2 separate regions of the Homo sapiens genome follow, and region 2 is linked to region 1. The links are contacts of gene promoters, found by promoter capture Hi-C in human tissues and cell types (Jung and others, 2019). All regions are on one chromosome and are shown on one strand. The core of a region is centred on a gene start or on the middle of the fragment in contact, and the rest is flanking DNA. Distances in the headings are between cores, read along the strand shown.

Evidence for each region. The method cuts DNA at HindIII sites, captures the fragments that hold promoters and counts their contacts. A contact is called where the count stands out against the background at its distance.
Region 2: a contact is called between a fragment that was not itself captured here and the fragment with the promoter of CHMP4B in region 1, in 2 of the 25 tissues and cell types used here (adrenal gland and dorsolateral prefrontal cortex).

The regions. Positions count from the first base shown.
Region 1 is chr20:33,809,425-33,814,545 of GRCh38, reverse strand. CHMP4B (charged multivesicular body protein 4B) reads right to left here and starts at 3,198. Exons shown (of 5, transcript NM_176812.5): 1 at 2,888-3,198. The coding sequence starts at 3,077. ZNF341-AS1 (ZNF341 antisense RNA 1) reads left to right here and starts at 3,447. Exons shown (of 4, transcript NR_110623.1): 1 at 3,447-3,506. RefSeq lists enhancers at 1,905-1,974, 1,803-2,643, 3,410-3,489, 3,229-3,523 and a silencer at 3,070-3,349. The HindIII fragment of the contact is 9,541 bases long and covers 1-5,121 here.
Region 2 is chr20:34,452,487-34,457,607 of GRCh38, reverse strand. ITCH (itchy E3 ubiquitin protein ligase) reads right to left here. Exons shown (of 25, transcript NM_031483.7): 13 at 134-218. Among named protein-coding and RNA genes, the nearest start is that of MIR644A, 11 kb to the left of the region's middle. The HindIII fragment of the contact is 4,557 bases long and covers 61-4,617 here.

The sequences.
Region 1 (5,121 bases), core at 1,949-4,448:
CACTGTCACTGCCTCCCAAACACACCCAACTCCTTGCTGACCCACCTCACGTTCTCCTTCCTCTGCCAAGTCTTCTTTATCCTTCCCCCCAAACAGGTGCCGCCTCCTCTGCAGCCTCAGCCCATGTACACACTCATGTTTCTGCACTGTTATAATCATTTCCTGCTCTCTCACACGCACATACACTCCCACCCCACACTTCCAATTCTGAGTTCCTGAAGGGCTGACACAGTGTATTTTCATCTCTGACTCTCAAGGTCCCAGCATAGTGGCAGGTGAATAAGCAGACTAACTGAATGGTAATGTGGTAGTGTTCACCTCCCCACACTAAGACCTTCCTCCTAGAGGATGCTAAAAAGAAGGGTAGGTTACAGTAGCTCCCATCCTCTCAAGCAAACTCAGGGAGACAGCCTGCCTTCAGCAAGTCTGACAACTGAGATTGGTCCTCCACAGTTGGCTGGCGAGCTCTCCTGCAGCCCCTTGAAAGTCAATTCGATCGCCAAAACTGCAGAAACGGCTGGGTGCGATGGCTCATGCCCATAATCCCAGCACTTTGGGAGGCCGAGGCAGGCAGATCATGAGGTCAGGTGTTCAAGACCAGCCTGACCAACATGGTGAAACCCCATCTCTACTAAAAATACAAAAATTAGCCAGGCATGGTGGCGTGCACCTGTAATCCCAGCTACTCAGGAGGCTGACGCAGGAGAATCATTTGAACCCAGAAGGCAGAGGTTGCAGTGAGCTGAGATCGCACCACTGCACTCCAGCCTGGGCAACAGAGCGAGACTCCGTTTCAAAAACAAACAAACAAACAAACAAACAAAAAAACAAACTCCAGAAACTAAGCTAGCTCCAGACCAAAAGATCAGAGGAAAATGGTAAACTGACACCCTCCTCCTGCATTCCAAAATGCAGAAAGCTAAAAACACTGATTCTGATGACCATAAACAGAGGATCTGGACTGAGGGAGAGTCATCAGAGGAAAAAGCTAGAGACAGCAAAATATAACCCTGTTCCCATCTCCACAACTAAGCTGGAGTCCAAGCCACAAATGGACCACTGCAGCTGCCTCCTCACTGTTCTCCCTGCTCCCACCCGCATCCCCCACCCACTCTCCAAAGAGCAGCCAGATGATGTTTTAAAAACTCTGTCAATAAGGACACGTTCCAACAAAATACTCTCCAAAAACTTTCCATCCACTTGGAATAAAATTCAAACTCTTCACCAACAGGTTCAAAGTCCAAGCCCCGCCCCCTTTATTCCATACCACTCTCCCTCCAAGCACTACATTCTGGACACAAGGGTCTCTCTCTTCGGTTTCTTACAACCTGCTAACCTCCGAGCCTTTTCCCATGCTGCTTTCCACGCCCAGAAGGCTCCTCCCCCTTTTTTTTTTTTTTTTACAGAGCTGGTTCCTTCTCCAGACTCAGTTCAAACTTTACCTTTTCAAAGACGCCTTCCCTGACCATTCTATCCAAAGTGGCATCCCTCCCACTCCACCACTCCCTATCAGACCATCTTTTTGTGTGTTTAGTACTTATCACCCCCGGACAATATTTTCTTCATTTATTTTCCTGTTTCTGTCTTCTCTCCCATTAGGGTTGAGGCCGTGTTTTGTTCACCCCTATGAATACAGCGCATGCAGCAGGCACTAAAAAGAATTTCCAGAATATCTGTTGACTATCAGCAGAGAAGCATCCTCCAGATAGGCTATTTTGTTCTCCTATTAGAATGGAGAAAACATCGATTTAGCCCCTACTATGTGCTGAGCACTGTAAATCCATGATTTTCCTTTCAGAAAGGTAAATGAGCTCAAGGTCGCACTGCTAGTCACTAGCAGACTTCTGAGTGAATTACCTCAATCCTAAACCCCTCTCAAGGGGAAGGGATGTCGTTCTGTGATTCACTCTCACATGGCCATAACAAGAAAAAGCAAACATTTCTAAACTGCTTTACAGTTTTAAAGCATTTTCACATTCATCTCACTTAAGAAAAACACAAAGCACTTGGAATGCCCAGAAAGCCATACGACAACAGGAAGTAAAGTAAGCAGTGCCTCAAGATTCAATACTGGGGCCCTGAATCCTAGTAGTGGGGACTGGGGAGCAGTCGGGAGTCTCTATTTCTGGTTCAGACGGATGGGGAAGCGGTGAGTCATGGGGTGAAGGCTTGCGCCACGGGAAACTTTGGTAAGGTCAAGCTACGAGGCAACAAAAAGTGAATCACAACGCTGGAAAACACCTTAGGCCTCAACAGAGGCCGAACTCTGGCTGACGGATGGGGAAACTGAGGCCTCAAAGGGAAAGCAACTTGCTCAAGTTCACTCAGCAAGTGAATAGAGCAGGAATCGGGGGTCTCATCTCCCCCAGTCCCCTTTTCTCTCCAGCAAGGAGGCTTTTCAACGAGAATTCTGAGACAAGAGGACAGGGGAGAGGCCAAGGGGCAGCTCACAGATTCCACCGAGGAGTCGGGAGAGGGCACAGGTAGGACCAGGAAGCACAGAAATGCTAGGATGGGGGCAGAAATGAGCCGAGGAGGAGGCAGGGGCAGTAGCTAGGCAGGTGGGTGAGGCGAGAAGGAAAAGGCGGAAGAGAAAGGGACAGAGTGAGGGCGGAGGAAAGTGCTGTGAGATTGGGGTCTGAAGGGACCTGGCGGGGTGGAGAGAGGCTGAGGGGAGAGGGCAGAATAAGTCTGACGATGGAAAAGTCCAGGGATCGGGGAGACATTGAAGGGAGTCGGGGAGGGGGTCCCAGACCCGGCAAGAAGTCTGACCCGGAGAGTTCCAGGGTCAGACCAGACCCCGAGGCGAGTCTGATGAAGGTGAAGTCCGGGCCCGGGGAGCCTGGGGGGAGCCCGTGGCAAGTCTGAAGGGGCCGGGCAGCCTCACCGCGCTTGTTTTTGGTGCCGTGCTTCTTGGCGGCCGTCAGCTCCTGCTCGATTTTCTTCTCCAGGAACTCCTGTTTCTTGCTTAACATCTCTTCCGTGTCCCGCAGCCGCTGGATGGCCTCCTGGGGGGTCGGGCCGCCCTTGCCGGCCTTACCCCCTCCAGCCCCGAACAGCTTCCCGAACACCGACATGGTTGCTGCTCGCCGCGCCGGCCTTCGCCGCCCGCTCCGGCTCGGCTCGGCTCGGCTCGGCTCGGGTCGGCTCCGGCGCCCGCTCCCAGTCCCGCCGCTCCCTGCCGCCGCAGGCCTCTCCTCCGCCTCCGCCTCCGCCCCGCAGCTGGGCCCGGCCGCGCCACCTCCCACAGGCCCCCACGCCCGGCCCGGCAGGCGTCAGGGCAACGCGCCACTGACTACAACTCCCAGTGGGCAACGCGCCGGCCGCGCCTCAAATCTAATAGGGGGAAGCGTGCTGCATGCCGGGAAGCTATAGTCTTCCGGCTTCAGGCGCTCCCCGGCGCGTCTTTTGCTGTAGCTGGGGTCAAAGGGCGTGTGGCATTCTGGGAAATGTAGTCTCCTTGGCCTGCGCTCTGTAGGAGTGGCAGAACAGTAAGAGAAATGACAGTAAGTGTGCAACACTGCTCAAAAATTTATTGCTAGTATGGGATACTGCCATGCTTGAACTTCACATGTATATTCATGTGAAGTTGTCTTAAAAGCGTGAAGGCAACAGTTGTTTCCAATTTCAACCTGTCAATTCTGTGGTCACAGAAGCAAAGCAGTATCTTCTCCAGTTAAGTACGGTAGTGTCCCCCTTATCTGAGATTTTACTTTGAGTAGTTTCACTTGGCCAGCTAAGGTCTGACAGTATTAAATAGAAAATTCCAGAAATAAACAGTTCATAAGTTTTTAATTTCCATTGGCCTAATGAAATCTCGTGCTATCCTGTTCCATCCTACCTGCAATGTGAATCATCCCTTTGTCCAACATACCTCTACCATCTGTTAGTTACTTACCAGCTTAGGAGTTATCAGATGGACTGCCACGGTGTTGCAGTGCTTTGGTTCGAGTAACCCTCATTTTACTATATAATGGCCCCAAAGTGCAAGAGTAGTAATGCTGGCAGTTTGGATATGCCAAAATGAAGCTGTAAAGTGCTTCCTTTAAATGTAAATGTGGAAGTTCTGAGCTTAAGAAAAAAAATCGTATGCTGAGCTTACTGAGGTCTGCAGTAAGAACGAATCTTCTAGCCCTAGAATTGTGAAAGAGGAAAAAGAAATTCATGCTGGTTTTGCTGTCGTACCTCAAACTGCAAAAGTTACAGCCACAGTGTGTGATAAGTGCTTAGTTAAGATAGAAAAGGCATTAAGTTGTATCCTTACTTACAGGGGAAAAAAAGAAAATAAATTTTTTTACAAAAGAAAAGAAAAAGCATTAAGCTTATACGTGGAAGACACGAACAAAAAATGTGTTCCAACTGACAGCAACCTGTTACCCCCCAGAAAGCATTGAGCCTGTATAAAGGCTTCAGCAAGGAATCTCCTAAAACCAGTGGCACCAAGCCACTTACTGAAAGTAATGGATGGTTGCACTGACTTAGGAATAGGTTTAGACTGCAAAATATAAAAATTACTGGATGGGCTGGGCACAGTGGCTCACACCTGTAATCTCAGCACTCTGGCAGGCCTAGGCGGATGGATCACCTGAGGTCAGGAGTTTGAGACCAGCCTGGCCAACGTGGTGAAACCCCATCTCTACTAAAAATAAAAAATAAAAATAAAAAAATTAGCTGGGCGTGGTGGCGCACGCCTGTAATCCCAGCTACTTGGGAGGCTGAGGCAGGAGAATCACTTGAACCTGAGAGGCAGAGGTTGCAGTAAACTGAAATCGTGCTATTGCACTCCAGCCTGGGCGAAAAGAGCAAAATTCTGTCTCAAAAAGAAAAAAAAAATTACTGGAGCCGGGCGCGGTGGCTCACGCCTGTAATCCCAGCACTTTGGGAGGCCAAGGCGGGCGGATCACGAGGTCAGGAGATCGAGACCATCCTGGCTAACAAGGTGAAACCCCGTCTCTACTAAAAATACAAAAAATTAGCCTGGCATGGTGGCGGCGGGTGCCTGTAGTCCCAGCTACTCTGGAGGCTGAGGCAGGAGAATGGCGTGAACCCAGGAGGCAGAGCTTGCAGTGAGCCGAGATTGCGCCACTGCACTCCAGCCTGGGCGACAGAGAGAGACTCCGT
Region 2 (5,121 bases), core at 1,090-3,589, 640 kb before region 1:
TCTCTTTCCAAAGTATGTAGGTGATTAACGTTTTAGGTCTTTGGCAAAAGAATATGAACTTTGATCTTCTTCAGTTGTTAGAAATAAGGTATAATCTTTAAGAGATTAAATATACACAAGTAACTATTCTTACCCTTGACTTCTGGGGTCTTCCCATTGTGTAATTCGTGTGTTGTGGTTGACGAAATATACTCTGCCATTGCTGTCTGTTCTCTTCTCTTTGGGAAGGGCAGGGGCAGGGGAAAGCAAAGCATTAGCATTGGCATAGTCTTCTTGCTCAAGGTAAAATAAAATTATTTGAATTTGCCCATTTCTCATTTCATTGTTTATTTTATAGTTTTTAAATCACAGCTTTAAAAGGTTTAATTTATTGACTATTAAATGCACATCCTTACTGAAGTTATAGAAATATTACATCTTAGAAGCTAAGTAGACGTACTTTATAATGTCCTAACCATAGGACCTTTCTACTCAATCCAACCAACAGCAGCAAGAATAATGAACAGTTATTTAGTTTTTTACACAGGACCTTCATTTTATTCTTAATAGTCCCATAGGGTAGGTGAATTCATCTTTATCCTTAAGATAAGAAAACTCAGATAGGTTAAATAATCTACCTGAAACCTCAGAATTAAGTAGCAGAGATGAGATGGAAACTCAGGTCTCCATTTAGGGATTTTTTTTTTTTCCATACTACATCATTTCATTCATTAAAATATAGTAAGGTGCCAGGCGGGGTGGCTCAGGCCTGTAATCCCAGCACTTTGGGAGGCCAAGGCAAGTAGATTGCTTGAGCTCAGGAGTTTGAGACCAGCCTGGGCCATATGGTGAACCCTCATCTCTACAAAAAATACAAAAAAATTAGTGGGCCGTGCTGGCAGCCCACTAATATATATATTTGATATATATTAAATATACATTTGTATATATAAATACACACACACACACATATATATATATATATTTTTTTTTTTGGAGACAAGGTCTCACTTTGTCACCCTGGCTGGAGTGCAGTGGCGTGATCTCAGCTCACTACAGCCTTGACCTCCCAGGTTCAGGTGATCCTCCTGCCTTAGCCCCACAACTTGTACAACTTGATTTTTAGAAACTAAGCTTTTTAAAAAGTTTGAATCCATTCTGTGATCTTTAATACATCAGTTATTCATTTTGAGACATGTTGAACAAATAAAAAAATTAGGATACCAGAAGAGTCCCATCTTTTGAAGAATTAATTGGTAATGGGACAGAGAAGCAACTTCCGGGGCTAAGGCAGGAGGGTCACCTGAACCTGGGAGGTCAAGACTGCAGTGAGCTGAGATCATGCCACTGCACTCTAGCCTGGGTGACAAAGTGAGGCCCTGTCTCAAAAAAAAAAAAAAAAAAAAAAAAAAAATATATATATATATATATATATATATATATACACACACACACACACACACACACACAATATATAAAAATATATATAAAATAAGGAATATAATGTAATTTGAGAGTGTGTATATATACATACATATATATACAAAATAAGGAATATAATATAAGGTATATGCTAGGCATTATTCAACTAAAAAATACTTCCTTTCTTAATACACTTAACATATCTCGTTCCTTAATATACCCAGTTCCAAAATCCTAAATATCTACAGTAACTTTCTATACAAGGGATAGGAAGCAGAACTCAGTTCTCTAATTACTGCATCTAAAGCTGCTGCTTGTTCCCCAACTGCCTCTTGCTTTAGGATTCTCCCTGTTTTCGTGTTCCCAGTCTACAAAATTTTACCTGCTTTCCTGAAATCTCCCCATTAAGGTTTAGAAGATGTGGATATTGGCCGGGCGCAGTAGCTCATGCCTGTAATTCTAGCACGTTGGGAGGCAGAGGCGGGCGGACTGCCTGAGCTCAGGAGTTCAAGACCAACCTGGGCAACATGGTGAAACCCCGTCTCTACTAAAATACAAAAAAGAAAAAAAAAAAAAATTAGCCAGGCATGGCGGTGTGCACCTGTAGTCCCAGCAACTCGAGAGGCTGAGGCAGGAGAACTGCTTGAACCCGGGACGCAGAGGTTACAGTGTGCCGAGATGGATTACAGCCTGGCGACAGAGCAAGACTCCGTCTCAAAAAAAAAAAAAAAATGTGGATATCATTTTCTCTTTTAGTAAACAAATTAAGTAGACTTGAAATTTTAACAGTTCTGCTGTTTTTGAATTACTGACTTCTCTGTCCCATTACCAATGAATTCTTCAAAAGATGGGATTCCTGCTGTATCCTAATTTATTTGTTCAACATGTCTCAAAATGAATAACTGATGTATTAAAGATCATAGAATGAACTGATGTATTAAAGATCATAGAATGAACTGAAACTTTTTAAAAAGCTTAGTTTCTAAAAATCAGCATTTTAAACAAAAATTTAAGTTTAATCCATGTTGACATGGCTAATTTTTATTTCCTGTGGTTTGAAAAATTGGTTAACTATTGGTCCTGCGCTGTGGCTCACGCCTGTAATCCCAGGACTCTGGGAGTTATAAGGCAGGCGGATGGCCTGAGGTCACGAGTTTGAGACCAGCGTGGCCAACAGGTCGAAACCCCGTCTCTACTAAAAATACAAAAATTAGCTGGGCATGGTGGTGGGCATCTGTAATCCCAGCTACTAGGGAGACTGAGGCAGGAGAATCGCTTGAACCCGGGAGGCAGAGGTTGCAGTGAGCCAAGATCATGCCATTGCACTCCAGCCTGGGCGACAAGAGCAAAACTCCATCTCAAAAAAAAAAAAAAAAAAAAAAAAAAAAACAGGAAAAGAAAAAAGAAAAATTGGTAACTATTTTTCAAATTAACACTTGAGATCATCTGGATCAGTTTTAGGCCAAATTATAGTCTTGTCAAGTTCGTATTTGGTAATATTTAATTTTATTTCCAATATAATTCCATGATTTCAAGTAGTAGTGATAACAGAGGTTAAAATGGATGTAACTAGTGAGTATCACAAACCTGCTTCTGACATTTAAAGCTACTTTCTATGTCAGCTTAGCTTAAAATGAAAATAGAATTCCAATGTGCATAATATACAGAAAAGTGGGACTCTGCCTCTCATGACACAGGTTTTGCTGGTCAAGGCATCTTCAGTGCATAAGCTTATCACCAACTCAAAGGCTGTCTCTAAAGAAAAACATAGGCCGGGCGCGGTGGCTCACACCTGTAATCCCAGCACTTTGGGAGGCCGAGGCGGGCGGATCACGAGGTCAGGAGATCGAGACCATCCTGGCTAACACAATGAAACCCCGTCTCTACTAAAAATACAAAAAATTAGCCGGGCGTGGTAGCGGGCGCCTGTAGTCCCAGCTACTCGGGAGGCTGAGGCAGGAGAATGGCGTGAACCCGGGAGGCGGAGGTTGCAGTGAGCCGAGATCGCGCCACTGCACTCCAGCCTGGGCGACAGAGCGAGACTCCGTCTCAAAAAAAAAAAAAAGAAAAACATAATCACCCACAGTGTTACAGCTTGCTCTTGTTAACATAACAGCAAGATAAGTTCATGTCTTGGCAGTCGCATTAAATTTTAAAAATTTATTTGCAGAATCCAGAATTCTCTCTTTGTTCTTCTTCTTCTTTTTTGAGACGGAGCCTTGCTCTGTCACCCAGGCTGGACTGGAGTGCAGTGGCGCGATCTCAGCTCACTGCAGCCTCGACCTCTCAGGTTTAAGCAATTCTCCTGCCTCAGCCTCCCAAATAGCTGGTACTACAGACGTCCACCACCACTCCCAGCTAATTTTTGTATTTTTTGTGGAGACAGCATTTCACCATGTTGGCCAGGCTGATCACGAACTCCTGACCTCAGGTGATTCACCCGCCTCGACCTCCCAAAGTGCTGGAATTACAGGCATGAGCCACCGTACCCAGCCAGAATTCTCTTTCTTGTTTAAAAATATATATCCAAATAATTTTTATAACCTAAAAATAATACCCTAAGTATATAGCTGAGCACATACTCAACTTTTTTCTCTCTCTTTTGGTTTTTTGAAAGAGTATCACTCTGTTGTCCAGGCTGGAGTGCAGTGATACAATCACAGCGCACTATAGCCTTGACCTCCGGGGCTCAAGCAACCCTCCCACTTCAGCCACCCAAGTAGCTGGAACTACAGGCATGCCACACCCAACTAATTTTTGTATTTTTTGTAAAGATGGGGTTTCACCATGTTGCCCCAGCCTGGTATCGAACTCCTGGACACAAGCCTTGGCCTCCCAAAGTACTGGGATTACAGGCGTGAGCCACTGTAATGGCCATTCATCTTTTATCTGTCAGCAAAGTTCAGATTTCAGGCCAAGATTTTCCTTTCAGAAGATAACATGAGGCAAGAGAAAATTAATAGCAAACATTTTTCTCATATATATTCTAAGTATATGCTGCTGAGATCAGCCTTGACACATTTGTGAACTGAAGGCTCATCTACTTAATGAGAGGAAGTGCTGTGGCTGTAGAACGGATTTCTGACTTTGTTGAAAAATCACATAATAAACAATACTGAAATTACTGAACATCAAATCCAAATGCAGATTAGAACACTTCCTGACTTGATGAATAAAACAGTAAAAAACAGACACTTCTTGTCATTCTATGTATTCTTTCACAGTAACTAGGAAAATGAGAGAATATCTTCATACTTGATTGGCGAAGCACCTATACAAAGCCCTATTAAATAATACTGGTGAACCAAAAGTATTCTTTGTTCTTTATCCTCTATAGTATGTTCATGTGTTAAAAATTCTTCACTGCCTAGCTAGGCATCGTGGCACAAAACTGTAATTCCAGCTACTCAGGAGGCTGAGGCATTGCTTGAGGCCAGGAGTTCAAAGCTGTAGTGTGCAATTACTATGCTGGAGAACAGCCACTGCACCCCAGCCTGGGCAACACAGGGAGACCCCCATCTCTAAAAAACCAATTATTCACTGAGCCTATGAGGTAGGAATGTCTAGTCCCAGCATATAAAAGTCTGAAAGGGTGCAAGCTGTAAGATGGGATTCTATCAACCTGGGTCAATCCTGAAGGTATGTTGGGTGGGTTGCTTCATCTGATATACTACCAGTGCTGTCACTGGTTCTACAAGTAAGGTATATGCCCCAAAGGCA